Linked DNA regions of Homo sapiens: all the other regions are linked to region 1. Evidence: promoter capture Hi-C in human tissues and cell types (Jung and others, 2019). All regions are on one chromosome and are shown on one strand. Each heading gives the region's core, a stretch centred on a gene start or on the middle of the fragment in contact. The rest is flanking DNA. Distances are from core to core; before and after follow the strand shown.

Evidence for each region. The method cuts DNA at HindIII sites, captures the fragments that hold promoters and counts their contacts. A contact is called where the count stands out against the background at its distance.
Region 2: a contact is called between a fragment that was not itself captured here and the fragment with the promoter of FGFBP1 in region 1, in 5 of the 25 tissues and cell types used here (aorta, dorsolateral prefrontal cortex, neural progenitor cells and 2 more).
Region 3: a contact is called between a fragment that was not itself captured here and the fragment with the promoter of FGFBP1 in region 1, in 2 of the 25 tissues and cell types used here (dorsolateral prefrontal cortex and spleen).

Annotation. Positions count from the first base shown.
Region 1 is chr4:15,935,892-15,940,565 of GRCh38, reverse strand. FGFBP1 (fibroblast growth factor binding protein 1) reads left to right here and starts at 1,826. Exons shown (of 3, transcript NM_005130.5): 1 at 1,826-1,879; 2 at 2,095-2,315; 3 at 3,914-4,674. The coding sequence starts at 3,934. The coding sequence ends at 4,638. The HindIII fragment of the contact is 13,154 bases long and covers 1-4,674 here.
Region 2 is chr4:15,829,250-15,833,923 of GRCh38, reverse strand. The region is part of intron 3 of CD38 (CD38 molecule); the gene reads right to left. Among named protein-coding and RNA genes, the nearest start is that of CD38, 53 kb to the right of the region's middle. The HindIII fragment of the contact is 8,209 bases long and covers 1-4,674 here.
Region 3 is chr4:15,856,507-15,861,180 of GRCh38, reverse strand. No RefSeq gene overlaps it. Among named protein-coding and RNA genes, the nearest start is that of FGFBP1, 80 kb to the left of the region's middle. The HindIII fragment of the contact is 4,017 bases long and covers 169-4,185 here.

The sequences.
Region 1 (4,674 bases), core at 577-3,076:
GTGTGTCTCTGTGTGTCTATGAGTGTGGTGTCTTTGAGTGTGTTTGTGTGTGTTTGAGTGTGTCAGTGTGTGTTTGTGTGTGTCTTTGTATGTGTGTCAGTGTGTATGTGTATTTATGTGTCTGCGTGTGAGTACCTGGAAATGAGGTTGGAAGGGCAGGATGAGCCAAGGAGGTGACTGCCCCACAGCCTGCTCTGATGCTGTGCTGCTGAGTCTAGAAGGGAAAGAGCAAAGCAGACGCTGGGATGGGAGTCACAGGAAGGGGAAGGGCCACAAGGAGCCAGTGGGGAATGTGCAGTGTTACCTGGCAAAGCTCAGAGAAGCACTTCCCAGAAAGACCCCGGAGTCCACATGTTTCCTTGTAAATATGTTTTGTGTTCCAACTGCAATCTGCCTCCAGAAAGAATCTGCCTGCCTCCCAAGGATCAAGTAGAATTTTCCATTTTGTAGGAGACTCCCCTTGTTGAGCAAAGCAGCTTTGCCTTGCCTATGTCCAAATAATCCTCCAAAATACCGCATGAGAGAGCCTGTTCGTGGAGGTCAGGGCCTCAGCGGGGTGTTTGTGAGGATAGTGAGGACGGACCCCTGGGTGAGGCAATTTTAGGAGAGAGGCACACAGCTTCAGAAATGGCTTCTTCCAACAGATTCATGCAGAGACTGAGCCTCTGAGTAAATTGGTCAACATCTATAGCTATGACCACGGAATTCTCAAACAGGTGGATCGTTCATAAAATCCAAACACAGTTACAAGTTTTGGCCTGCATAGTGTTGAGCTACAGCTTTATTTTTAGAAAATTTTAATTAGCTGCCAACCAATTTCATATAAACACATCTGGATTTGGGGATGTCATTTTAAAAATCAGACAGTGTGACAATACTGAGCCTAATCCCTGCATTTTCTCAGTCAATTGGAGATGAGTGTTGACCTCTATGGAGGCAGAGACTCTCTAGTTTGCCACAGTCCCCATCACTCCCTATTGCCTTATCTCAAACCCAAAAGTCAGTTGCCATTTAATATCACACTAAACAATAGTTTTCTTATGGCTGAATTAAGGAAAAGTGAACAATTTCTTCTTCTGAAAATCTATGAAAGGTGAGGTGATAATATATAATGAGGGCCACATCTTCCCTGTAGAAGTGAGTTTCTTTTTAAATGCTGCATATGTAAATAACAAATGTCTGTTTTCAAAGTATACAACTTAAGACCCTGTCATGAGGCAAAACGATTCTGCTCCACTTTATGTTAACAGCTTAGCCCAGTAAAAATTTAGTATGCAGCTATAAAGGAGACGTTGTTATTGTCAGCACACTGCAAATGGATGATGGGAGAGGCTAAGTGGTTTGGGCATAGCACTCAGCTAAACACATGCTGTGGCCAGGATTCCACCTGGGTCATTCTGGTGTGGGACTGTGCCTGTAGCAGGCAGGGCAGCCTGAGCTCTCTGAATGAGACCTGAAGGTAAGTATTTACAACAGTAATCTTATATTAAAAATTCCCTCTTTACCAGCCTCTCAGAGCCTGGTAGAATTCCCTGATAAAAAAGAGGGAATTTTTAATGTAAATTTCCCTGCCTCTAGAATTAGGGTATCCTCTGCTTATGTAGTAACTTCAGATGGAAAAAGGAACTCAGACACTACGAAAACTTCGGCAACTTCAGTCACCCATTCAACAAAGATTTATTGAGAGTGGCAGGCAGGAAGAGATCAGACCATGGATGTAGAGAATCTCACTTTTAATTTTGAGATGTTCCTTTTCCTGCCTCTGTGAACTTGGACAAGCTCTTACATATCTCCAGAACCAATTCCTGCTTTTGTAAAAGGGGAGGAATCATTGCACTCCCTACTAGAGCGGATGTGATGAGGGAAAAGGAGAACTCAGGTAAAATGGGCTCAGTAGTTTGGCAGCTCGGATCATGTCATTATAGTTATTTTACTCCTCCATAGACATCACTGCTGGGGTCCTCTCCCCATCAAGGAGGGTCACTGTGAGGCTGAGTTGTCCTCCTATCCTGGCCACAGGGTGGACAGGGAAGGGCCTAGAGGAAGCGTTTGATGGCATGCAGGTAACCCCCCTTTTCACTGGATTACATCCAGCACTTTCCCTGCAGGAACCGGCTCCCTCGGAGGGGCGTGGCTGGGAGGAGCTGTGAGTAACGTGCCACAGTGTTGTAAAAACCCAGTGAGTGTTATAAAAACCCAGTCAGCCTGGCTCCTGTTGAATAGTCTACCCCCCTTGCACTCTACCTGACACAGCTGCAGCCTGCAATTCACTCGCACTGCCTGGGATTGCACTGGATCCGTGTGCTCAGAACAAGGTAAGAGCCTCGCTCCTTTAACAGCTTTATTACCTGCTGCCACTTCTCACTCCACCAAGGGCCTGGAGTTCCTTGGGCCTGCATTCCATCATGGGCAGGTGGGGGCTGAGCCCCAGGGCCGTGAGAAATGACTGGGTGTTTTTCTGGCATATCCAGTCTCCTCTTCACCATTTATTGCTGTTCTCTGCCCTTTTGTGATTGTCTTTCTCCTTCTTAACCCTAGAAGATGGCCAACTTCTAGGGTAGAAATCAGATCAGGACCATTTCCTGGGTCTGCCTCTTTTTATAAAAAATTCTGTGTTTTGTTTTAAATGGAGCACAAATAATACAAATCATCTTATCATTATGTGTTATATGAAACTAAATTGTCATTGTTCATAGTTGTTTTTCTTATTCTTTGGCAATGTTTTTAAAGGGCAGAGTAAATGTGAAAAGCAAAAAGTGATCAACCAGGGGTGACAGAAAGGAATAAGGAGATTGATCTGGCTACCCATACCAGCTTTGAACTTGCCCACTATGAGATCCTGAGCAATTTACTTACCTGTCTGAGCCTTAAGAGTCAGAGCTGTCACCTGGGATGACATATTAATAGCTACCTGGAAGAGCTCTTGTGTGGATTTCACAAGGTGGGAATCAAACCCTAGACCAGTACTTAGCACACAGGAGGTGTCATATAGAAACTGACTTCTCTTCTTCTGTTAAGCATGGGTTTTTATTGTACACATGATCAGATTCATGCAGTTCAGTGTGACGTTGGTGTTCATCCTATTGATTCAATGATTTCTCATGATCCTTGTCTTCGATCTTGTAGTGTGAACTATCTGGTTGAAATTCACCTCTCTCCACCCTGATTCACTTTGCCCAGGCAAATCAGACAACCACCCCACCTCACACCTTTCCTTAAACTCTTACTTCCCCACAAAAAGCTCCCCCACCCCCACAACCCCACCCACCCCACCCAAACCCCAGGCATGTTCAACTCTGGGTCAACATCACCTTTCATGATGCTTACCACATCCTTTCTCATTTTGGGCATCTGTCATGTCTTTTCTCATTTTGGGCATCTGTGTCCATATGGAGTCATGAGATAGAAATCCAGCCCTTTGGAGCTGAAAGTTTGGAGCAGTAACTTGTTTCATATCAGAAACAGAGATGACGGGATAGATTCCCTGATCAATGCTATTTAAATTCTCCCAAAGAGTGGTCTCTAAGCTCTTTCAAATCTGAGGCTTTCTCAATCATGGTGATTTCTTCAACACCTAGTCTGGTGGGGGGCATATAGTAGGTGCTCAGTAAATGCTTGTTGAATGAGTGAATGAAAGAGTGAGGAGTGAGCAGATGCAGGAGTTAATGAGTGAATAAATGATAAATGAGAGTTCGTGAGGCTCCAAAGAGTGGTACTTTTGTGACACTCAAGACTCAAGTCAAGTGGAAATGTGAGTAGACAGGCTGTTTGTCTAGTGACTCCAGGAGCCAGAAGCGTTCTTGGTCTACTCTGAAATCATGTAGGCACCTGTCAGGGTAGGGGGAGGCCAGCGTGTAGTCCTGCACAGCTGAACTGCTGCCTGCCACTGACTCACTTGCCTTTTGTCAAACAGGTGAACGCCCAGCTGCAGCCATGAAGATCTGTAGCCTCACCCTGCTCTCCTTCCTCCTACTGGCTGCTCAGGTGCTCCTGGTGGAGGGGAAAAAAAAAGTGAAGAATGGACTTCACAGCAAAGTGGTCTCAGAACAAAAGGACACTCTGGGCAACACCCAGATTAAGCAGAAAAGCAGGCCCGGGAACAAAGGCAAGTTTGTCACCAAAGACCAAGCCAACTGCAGATGGGCTGCTACTGAGCAGGAGGAGGGCATCTCTCTCAAGGTTGAGTGCACTCAATTGGACCATGAATTTTCCTGTGTCTTTGCTGGCAATCCAACCTCATGCCTAAAGCTCAAGGATGAGAGAGTCTATTGGAAACAAGTTGCCCGGAATCTGCGCTCACAGAAAGACATCTGTAGATATTCCAAGACAGCTGTGAAAACCAGAGTGTGCAGAAAGGATTTTCCAGAATCCAGTCTTAAGCTAGTCAGCTCCACTCTATTTGGGAACACAAAGCCCAGGAAGGAGAAAACAGAGATGTCCCCCAGGGAGCACATCAAAGGCAAAGAGACCACCCCCTCTAGCCTAGCAGTGACCCAGACCATGGCCACCAAAGCTCCCGAGTGTGTGGAGGACCCAGATATGGCAAACCAGAGGAAGACTGCCCTGGAGTTCTGTGGAGAGACTTGGAGCTCTCTCTGCACATTCTTCCTCAGCATAGTGCAGGACACGTCATGCTAATGAGGTCAAAAGAGAACGGGTTCCCTTAAGAGATGT
Region 2 (4,674 bases), core at 1,010-3,509, 110 kb after region 1:
CCCCAGTCCAGGAAGAATTAGAGGTAAAACCAGTCCTTCAGTGGTTGCTTTTGCCAACTGCTTTTCTGCTTCCTGACAACTCTCTCTTGCTGTGTTTCCTGCCCCACTTCTTAAGTCTTCACCACTTACTCTCAGATGGCCTCAGAGTCTTCCTACACTTGCCCTCATCAAGGCAGTCTTAACCCTGAGTGAAGTACAATGGACACAGAGCATGAATACATAGTTTCTGTGTCACTTCTCCCAAGGATATCTGCCTTAATGCACATTTATTGAGTTTTAGGTCTTAGAGGTAGAAAGATAAAATAGAAAAATTAGATGGGAACTTTGCCTTCAGAGAGCACATGATATAGTAATTCTAGGAGTCTTGTAATGATTAAATGCTTTAAAACCAAAACCACACAAATAAAAAAGAAACATTCCCATGTGTAGATATAAATAATTATTGTGGAGTCAAAAGGAATTATCTTCCCAACAGAGGTAAAAATGTTGATGGTGGAATGGACATACATTTCATAAGGTGCTTTAAAGTATATATGTTTTCATGAAAATAAACCTCTTTTATCTTCACAACGACATCTGGAGAGAATTCATCACCTACTAACTGAAGAGCCCTTGGGCCCTGAAAAACCAGAAGTGATACCCAATTAGTATGTCATGGGCCTTGGGTGAGACTCTGTGACTTGCTGGCTTCAGGTACAGCCACAGAGAGGTAGAGCACCAACTGGGCTTGGGGTCCCTGATTCCAGGATGTGGCTCTTGGATAGCATTTCTGGGCCTGCCCTGGGCCAGAGGGGAGCCCACTGCTTTGAAGGGTGAGTCCCAGGCCAGGCAGCATTAACCACAAGCTGACTGAAGAGTCCTTGGGCCTTGGAATATTAACAGTACACTGGCAGTACTCCCTGTGGGCCTGTGGTGGTGGTGGCCATGAGGTGAGGCTCCTTTGCCTTAGAAAAGGGGAAGACAGCATGGGAAGGACTGTGTCTTGTGGTTTGAATGCCAGCTTAGTCACAGTACAATGCAATACTAGGTAGACTTCTAAGGTTTTTTACTCTAGTCCCTGGCTTCTGGATGGCACCTCTGGACCAACCCAGGGCCTTGGGAAACTTGCCAACCTGAAGAGAAGAACACGGGTCTGGCTGGCTTTCTCACCTACTGATTGTAGAGCCCCAGAGCCTTGAGCAAATATAGATGGCAGCTAGGAAGTGGTTACTGCAGGCCCTGGGCAAGTGCTGTACTGGCTTCAAGTCTTACCCAGCAAAGTCCTAGTTGCGGTGGAGTGTGTCACCAGCTTTATGTGGGTCAGAACAGAAAGAGAGAGACTCTGGGAGAAAGTAAAGGGACTAGAAAAAGAATCTCTGCCTGGTAATCCAGAGAATCCTTCTAGATCTTGTCCAAGACCATCAAGGTGGTACCTCCATGAGTGTGTACAAGACCCACAGCATTACTAGGCTTGCAGGGCCCCCTACAGCAGATACAACGTAGATCACAACATCCGAGTCCTTCAAAATATCTGGAAAGCCTTTCCAAGGACAAGTACAAACAGGCCCAGGTTGTAAAGACTACAATAAATACAATGCCTAGATGCAGAAAAATATCTACAAGTATCAAGACCATCCAGGAATACATGACCTCACCAAATGAATTAAATAAGACATCAGAGATCAATCCTGAAGAAACAGAGATATGTGAGACAGAGAATTCAAAATAGCCATGTTGAGGAAACTGAAAGAAATTCAAGAATTCTATCAGATGAATTTAACAAAGAGATGGAAATAATTAAAAAGAATCAAGTAGAAATTCTGGAGCTGAAAAGTACAAATAACACACTGAAGAATGCATCAGAGTCTTTTTATAGCAGAACTGATCAAGCAGAAGAAAGAATTTGTGAGCTTGAAGACAGGCTATTTGAAAATACACAGTCAGAGGAGACAAAAGAAAAAAGAATAAAAAACAATGAAGCACACTGGCAGGATCTAGAAAATTGCCTTAAAAGGGCAAATCCAAGAGTTATTGGTGTCAAAGAGGAGGTAGAAAAAGAGATACAGGTAGAAAGTTTATTCAAAGCAATAATAACAGAGAACTTTGCAAACCTAGAGAAAGATATCAATATCCCAAGTACAAGAAGGTTATAGAACACCAAGCAGATTTAACCCAAGAATGCTGCCCCAAAGCATTTGATAATCAAACTCCCAAAGGTCCAAGATAAAGAAAGGATCCTAAAAGCAGCAAGAGAAAAGAAACAAATAGCATACAAGGGAGTTTCAGTACATCTGGCAGCAGACTTTTCAGTGGAAACCTTACAGGCCAGATGAGAGTGGCATGACATATTTGAAGTGCTGAAAGACAAAAAAAAAAGTTTTTACTCTAGAATAGTATATCTGGTGAAAATATCCTTCAAACTTGAAGGAGAAACACAGACTTTTCCAGACAAACAAAAGGTGAGGGATTTAATTAACACGAGACCTGTCCTAGAAGAAATGCTAAAGGGAGTACTTCAATTAGAAAGAAAAGGATATTAATGAGCAATTTAATCATCTGAAGGTACAAAACTCACTGGCAGTAGTAAGTACACAGAAAACCACAGAATGTTATAACACTGTAACTATGACGTGTAAACTACTCTTGTCTTAAGTAGAAAAACTAAATGATGAGCCAATCAGAAATAATAACTACAATAACTTTTCAAGACATATAAAGTACAATAAGACATAAATAGAAACAACAAAAAGTTTTAGAGTGGGAGAATGAAGTTAAGGTATAGAGTTTGTATTAGCTTTCTGTTTGCTGTCTTTGTTTCTTTATGCAAACTGTGTTAAGTTGTTATCAGCTTAAAATAATGGGATATAAGATACTATTTTTAAGCCTCATGGTAACTTCAAACTCAAAAACATATAACAGTTCCACAAAAAATAAAAAGCAGGAAACTGAAAAAATCACCTCCACTGAAAGGAAGACAGAAAGGAAAGAAAGAAGGAAGAGAAGACCACAAAACAAACAGAAAACAAGTAACAAAATGGCAGGAGTAAGTCCTTACTTAAAAATATAACATTTACGTCAAATGTAAATGGACTAAACTCTACAATCAGAAGGCACAGAGTGGCTCAATGGATAAAAATGAAACTAGACCCCTATCTCAAATCACATACAAAAATAAAATCAAAATAGATTAAAGATTTAAATCTAAGACCTCAAACTATGAAACTACTGCAAACTACTACAAGAAACCACTGGGGAAACTCTCCATGACATTTGTCTGGGCAAAAAAAATTATTGAGCAATACCCCATGAGCACAGGCAACGAAAGCAAAATGAACAAACAGGATCACATCAAGTTAAAAAGCTTCTGCATAGCAAAGGAAACAATCAACAAAGTGAAGAGAGAGCCCACAGAATGGGAGAAAATATTTGCAAACTACCCATTCAAGAAGGCATTAAAAACCAGAATAGATAAGTAATTCAAACAACTCTATAGGAAAGAAATCTAATAATCCAATTAAAAATGGGCAAAAGATTTGAATACATATTTCTCAAAAGAAGACATACAAATGGCAAACAGGCATATGAAAATGTGTTCAAATCATTGACCATCAGATAAATGCAAATCAAAACTATCATGAGATATCATCTCACCCCAGCTAAAATGGCTTTCATCCAAAAGTCAGGCAATAACAAATAATGATGAGGATGTGGAGAAAGGGGAACCCTTGTACACTGTTGGTGGGAATGTGAATTAGTACAACCACTATGGAGAACAGTTTTGAGGTTTCTCAAAAAAATAAAAATAGAGCTATTATATGATCCAGCAATGCCACTGCTGGATATATACCCAACAGAAAGAAAATCAGTCAATGGAAGAGATATCTGCACTCCCATGTTTATTGCAGCACTGTTCACAATAGCCAAGATATGGAAACAACCTAAATGTCCATCAATAGATAAATGGATAAAGAAAATGTGGTATTTATACACAATGGAGTACTATTCAGCCACAAAAAAGAATGTGTTCCTGTCATTTGCAACAACATGAATAGAACTGGAGGTCATTATGTTAAGTGAAATAAGCTAGACACAGAAAGATAAACATAGGATGTTCTCACTTATTTTAGCATCCAACAAATCAAAACAACTGATCTCATGGACATGGAGAATAGAAAAATGGTTACCAGACGCTGGGAAGTGTAGCAAGACATTGTGGGGAGGTGGGGATGGTTACCAAAAAATAGTTAGAATGAATAAGACCTATTATTTGATAGCACAGTATGGTGACTGTAGTCAATAACAATTTTGTTGTACATTTTAAAAAAAGCTTGTCCAACCCATGGCCCATGGGTCTCAAGCAGCCCATGACAGCTTTGAATGCAGCCCAACACATAAGTTCAATTCATAAACTTTCTTAGAAATTAGGAGATTTTTTGCGATTTTTTTTCAGCCCATCAGCTATCATTAGTATTAGTGTATTTTATGTGTGGCCCAAGACAATTCTTCCAATGTGGCCCAGGGAAGCCAAAAAATTGGACACCCCTGTTTTAAAATAACTAAAAGAATAAAATTGGATTGTTTGTAACACAAAAGATAAATGCTTATGGGGAAAGAGACATTTTTCATGATGTAATTATTATGCACTGTATATCTATATCAAAACATCTCATGTACACACATCCCATATATACACCT
Region 3 (4,674 bases), core at 928-3,427, 80 kb after region 1:
AATTGGTAGTTTCCCAATCACAAGGTAAAGTTTATTTCTCTACCTCTTGAATATGAGGTTGGCCATGTGACTTGTGACTTGTTGGACTTGCATTGTTTATAATGGCTTGTTTTTCTTTTTAATAAATTTATTTTTTCGAGTAGTTTTAGATTCACAAAAAACTGAGTAGAAAGTACAGTCTTCATATAATCCCTGCACCCACACGTGCACAGCCATCCCAACCATGGTTTTTATAAAAAATGAAAATAAAATACTTGTACCAAATTAGGGGATGAATAAATTATGGTACAACAATATTCTTTGCCAATGAAAAATAACAACGCAGAGCTCTATTTATTGACTTAGAAAGATATTCACAACATATTAGTTTGAAAAAAGCTAGTCACTGTAGGGTGAGATAGCATTTCTCTAAACATATGATCTCATTTCTCTAAACATATACCTATTTCATTAGATCTAAGATGTCATCAAGTATAAGATAGACTATTAATTATTCATTACTAAGAAAAAGGATGCTTCCACTTAAACTGTCATATGTTGTTTTGTAAATACATTGATTCTAAGATACAGCCTGATGTCAGAAATTCTAAAATCTTTTTAAAAATGTTTCTTAGCTTGTGCATATGTGGTTGATATAAAAATGTAATTTTTAAATTTATTGATACATAATATTTGTACACATTTATGAGATACATGTGATATTTTGTTATGTGCATTGAATGTATAATTATCAAGTCAGAGTTCTTAGGGTATCCATTGCCTCGAGTATTTATCATTTATATGTGTTGGGAACATTTCAAGTTCTCTCTTCTAGTTATTTTGAAAGATACAATACGTTGTTGTTACTTATAGCTACCCTACTCTGTTATGAAATATTAGAACTGATTCCTTCTATGTAACTGTATGTTTGTACCCATTCAGCAACCTCTCTTCATCCCCTCCACCACACACACACACACACACACACACACACACACACACACACACACCCTTAGCCTTTGGTCTCATTCTACTCTCCACCTCCATGACATCAACTTTTTAAGCTCCCATATATGAGGGAGAATATACAATATTTGTCTTTCTATGTCTGGCTTATCTCACTTAGCATGATGACCTCCAGTTTCATTCATGTTCTGAAAGTGACATGATTTCTTTCTTTTCCATGACCAAATAGTACTCCATTGTGTATATACACCACATTTTCTTCATCCATTTATTAATGGATAATTTGTTAATTCATATCTTTGCTATTGTGAACAGCACTACAATAAACATAGGGGTGCAAGTGTCTTTTGATATACTGATTTATTTTCCTTTGGATAAATATGCAGTTGTGGGATTGCCGGGTCATATGATAGTTCCATTTTTAGCTTTTTGAAAACTCTCCATACTGTTTTCTATAGTGACTGTACTAATTTACATTCCCACCAACAGTGTATAAGAGTTTCCTCTTCTCCACATCCTCATCAGCATCTGTTAATGTTTGTCTTTTTAATAATACCCATTCTGAGGTAAGATAATACCTCATTGTGGTTTTGATTTGCATTTTGATAATTAGTGATGAACATGTTTTCAAATACCTGTTGGCCATTTGTATGTATTTTTTTGAGAAATGTCTCTTCCTGTCCTTTACCCACTTTTAAATGGGATTAATTGTGGGTTGGTTTGTTTGTTTACTGTTGAGTTGTGAGTGCCTCGTATATTCTGAATATTAGTCCCTTGTCAGATGAATAGTTCACAAGTATTTTCTCCCATTTGACAGGTTGTCTCTTTACTCTGTTGATTATTTTCTGTGCTGAAGCTTTGTATTCTAATATAGTCCCGTTTGTCCATTTTTGCTTTTGTTGCCTATGCTTTTGAGGTCTTAGCCATAAAATCTTTGCCTAGATCAATGTCTTGAAGTGTTTTCCCTATGTTTTCTTCAAGTAGTTTTATAGCTTAGGGTTTTGTGTTTAAGTATTAATGCATCTTGAGTGGATTTTTTGTATATGATGAGAGATGGAAGTACAGTTTTATTTTTCTGCATATGAATGTCCAATTTTCCCAGCACCATTTATGGAAGAGGGTGTCCTTTCTCCAATGTATGTTCTTGGAGCTTTTGGTGAAAATCAGTTGGCTATAAATATGTGTATTACTTTCTGGGTTATCTATTCTGTTCTATTGGTCTATGTGTTGGTTTTTTGTTTCTGTTTTTGTTTTTGAGAGAGAGTCTTGCTCTGTCACCAGGCTGGAGTGCAGTGGTGCCGTCTCGGCTCACTGCAACCTCTGCCTCTCAGGTTTGAGTGATTCTCCTGCCTCAGCCTCCCAAGTAGCTGGGACTACAGGCCTGCACTGCCACACCCAGCTAATTTTTGTATGTTTAGTAGAGATGGGGTTTCACCATGTTGGCAAGGATGGTCTTGATATCTTCACCTCATGATCCACCTACCTCGGCCTCCCAAAGTGATGGGATTACAGGCGTGAGCCATACCACCATGTTGTTTTGGTTACTATAAGCCTTGTAATATATTTTGAAGTGAAGTAGTGTGATGCCTCCAGCTTTGTTCTTTTTGCTCAGGATTGCTTTGGCTATTTAGTTCTCTTTTTTTGTTCCATATGAATTTTAGGATTGTTTTTCTATGAAAAATATGATTTATATGAAAAGTGTACAATATATACATAAGATGTTATCAGTGGTAACCACTGGTAACCTGGGTGGTAAGATTATCAATGAGTAGAAAGTATAGCACTGATATATTTCAATGATTTTGTCTTTATTTTTTATTATCTGTATTGCTTACATCAAAGAAATGGTAACTTGGTTAAAAATAAAAACATTTTAAAGGAAAACTCTCAATCTCCCCTGTTTGGGGAAGCTTTCATCATCCCTCTCACATCACCCCAAATTGTACTTTGTGCTCATGGGGCATGTTTGTGTCATTGACAGTCCTAACCATCTCATTCTCAGTCCTCCTAAAAGACCAGAGTTTTCCAGACAACACAGTGGGCAGCTGGAAAGGGGTATGGGGGAAATGACTTTTACCAAGTTCAGGCTGAAGTAGAGATTCCCCCTTGAATACACAGGGAGTGGGCCATCTGCTCCACGGCAGTAGCCCATGCCTGTTTCTGTCAATACTCTGTCACCAGCACCTTGCACCTAGAAAAGGATCAGCTAATACTGGTGATCAAATAATCAGTAGGTCAATTATTTAATAGTGAGGCTAAAGTGGCCAGCAAAGCCAAGTCTGGACAAAGAAACTGAGCTACAGCGGTGAGGATTAAAGAAGGCATTATGGAGACAAAAGCCCTGAGAGCAAATACTGACTGAGTTTCTGCTCTGTGTCTGGGATTGAGGATAAAGCAATGAAGAAAAAGACCAGGTCTAGCCATCATGGAAATGAGATTCTGGGTGAAACTAGATCAGAGGAAGAGAGGAAGAGAGAAGTATCTTTTTCTAGAGTTTGGTACCCTCTGCTTATGGCTTCCATTTTCTAAGTCCAAGGCTGCTGCTGAAATTTCATTGTTTTTCAGCAAAGTAAAGGAGATAAAAGTGAAAATTTAGTCCATTGATGATAGACTGGATCAAGAAAATGTGGCACATATACACCATGGAATACTGTGCAGCCATAAAAAAGGACGAGTTCATGTCCTTTGTAGGGACATGGATGAAGCTGGAAACCATCATTCTGAGCAAACTATCACAAGGACAGAAAACCAAAAACCACATGTTCTCACTTATAGGTGGGAATCGAACAATGAGAACACATGGACACAGGGTGGGGAACATCACACAATGGGGCCTGTCGTGGGGTCGGGGGAGGGAGGGAGGGAGGGATAGCATTAGGAGAAATACCTAATGTAAATGACGAGTTAATGGGTGCAGCATATCAACATGGCACATGTATACATATGTAACAAACCTGCACGTTACGCACATGTACCCTAGAACTTAAAGTATAATTTAAAAAAATGAAAATTTAGAGCAAGTGGCTGTTTCTAAGGTGACTAGGCAATTGCATTAATCATCTCCATTCATACCCTATTGGCCAGAGCCAGCTGCAGAGCTGGGATCTGTTCTCTAGCCGTGAAGTCATGCCCTGATTAAAAATGGCAGATGGGGAAATACTGTTTATTTTTTTTAAAAAAAGAAGAAAAGAACACATACTAGGCAACAGTTAGCAATCTCCACCACACCTGTTTGTGGATTCTTAGGCTTTTTGATAGGAAAGAAAGACATGGAAGGAGAAAACCTTGACTCCTAAACTATTGCTCACAACTCCACACACCTTCCACAACCCCAGAAGGACTTAGTATCTTCACTTGTCAAGTAAAGGAGATGAGCCACTGATGTGCCATCATTGTGTTCCATGGTTCTTTCATGATTCTGTAATAAATTATTACAGAAATGTCTATTTTGTTACTTTTACTGTGGAAGTATTTGACATGTTCATGGTAATGAGTGACACTTAGAAAACAACAGGCCGGGCGCAGTGGCTCACGCCTGTAATCCCAGTATTTTGGGAGGCCGAGGGGGGCGGATCACAAGGTCAGGAGATGGAGACCATCCTGGCCAACATGGTGAAACCTTGTCTCTACTAAAAATACAAAAATTAGCTGGACATGGTGGTGCGTGCCTGTAGTCCTAGCTACTCAGGAGGCTGAGGCAGGAGAATCGCTGGAACCTGGGAGGCGGAG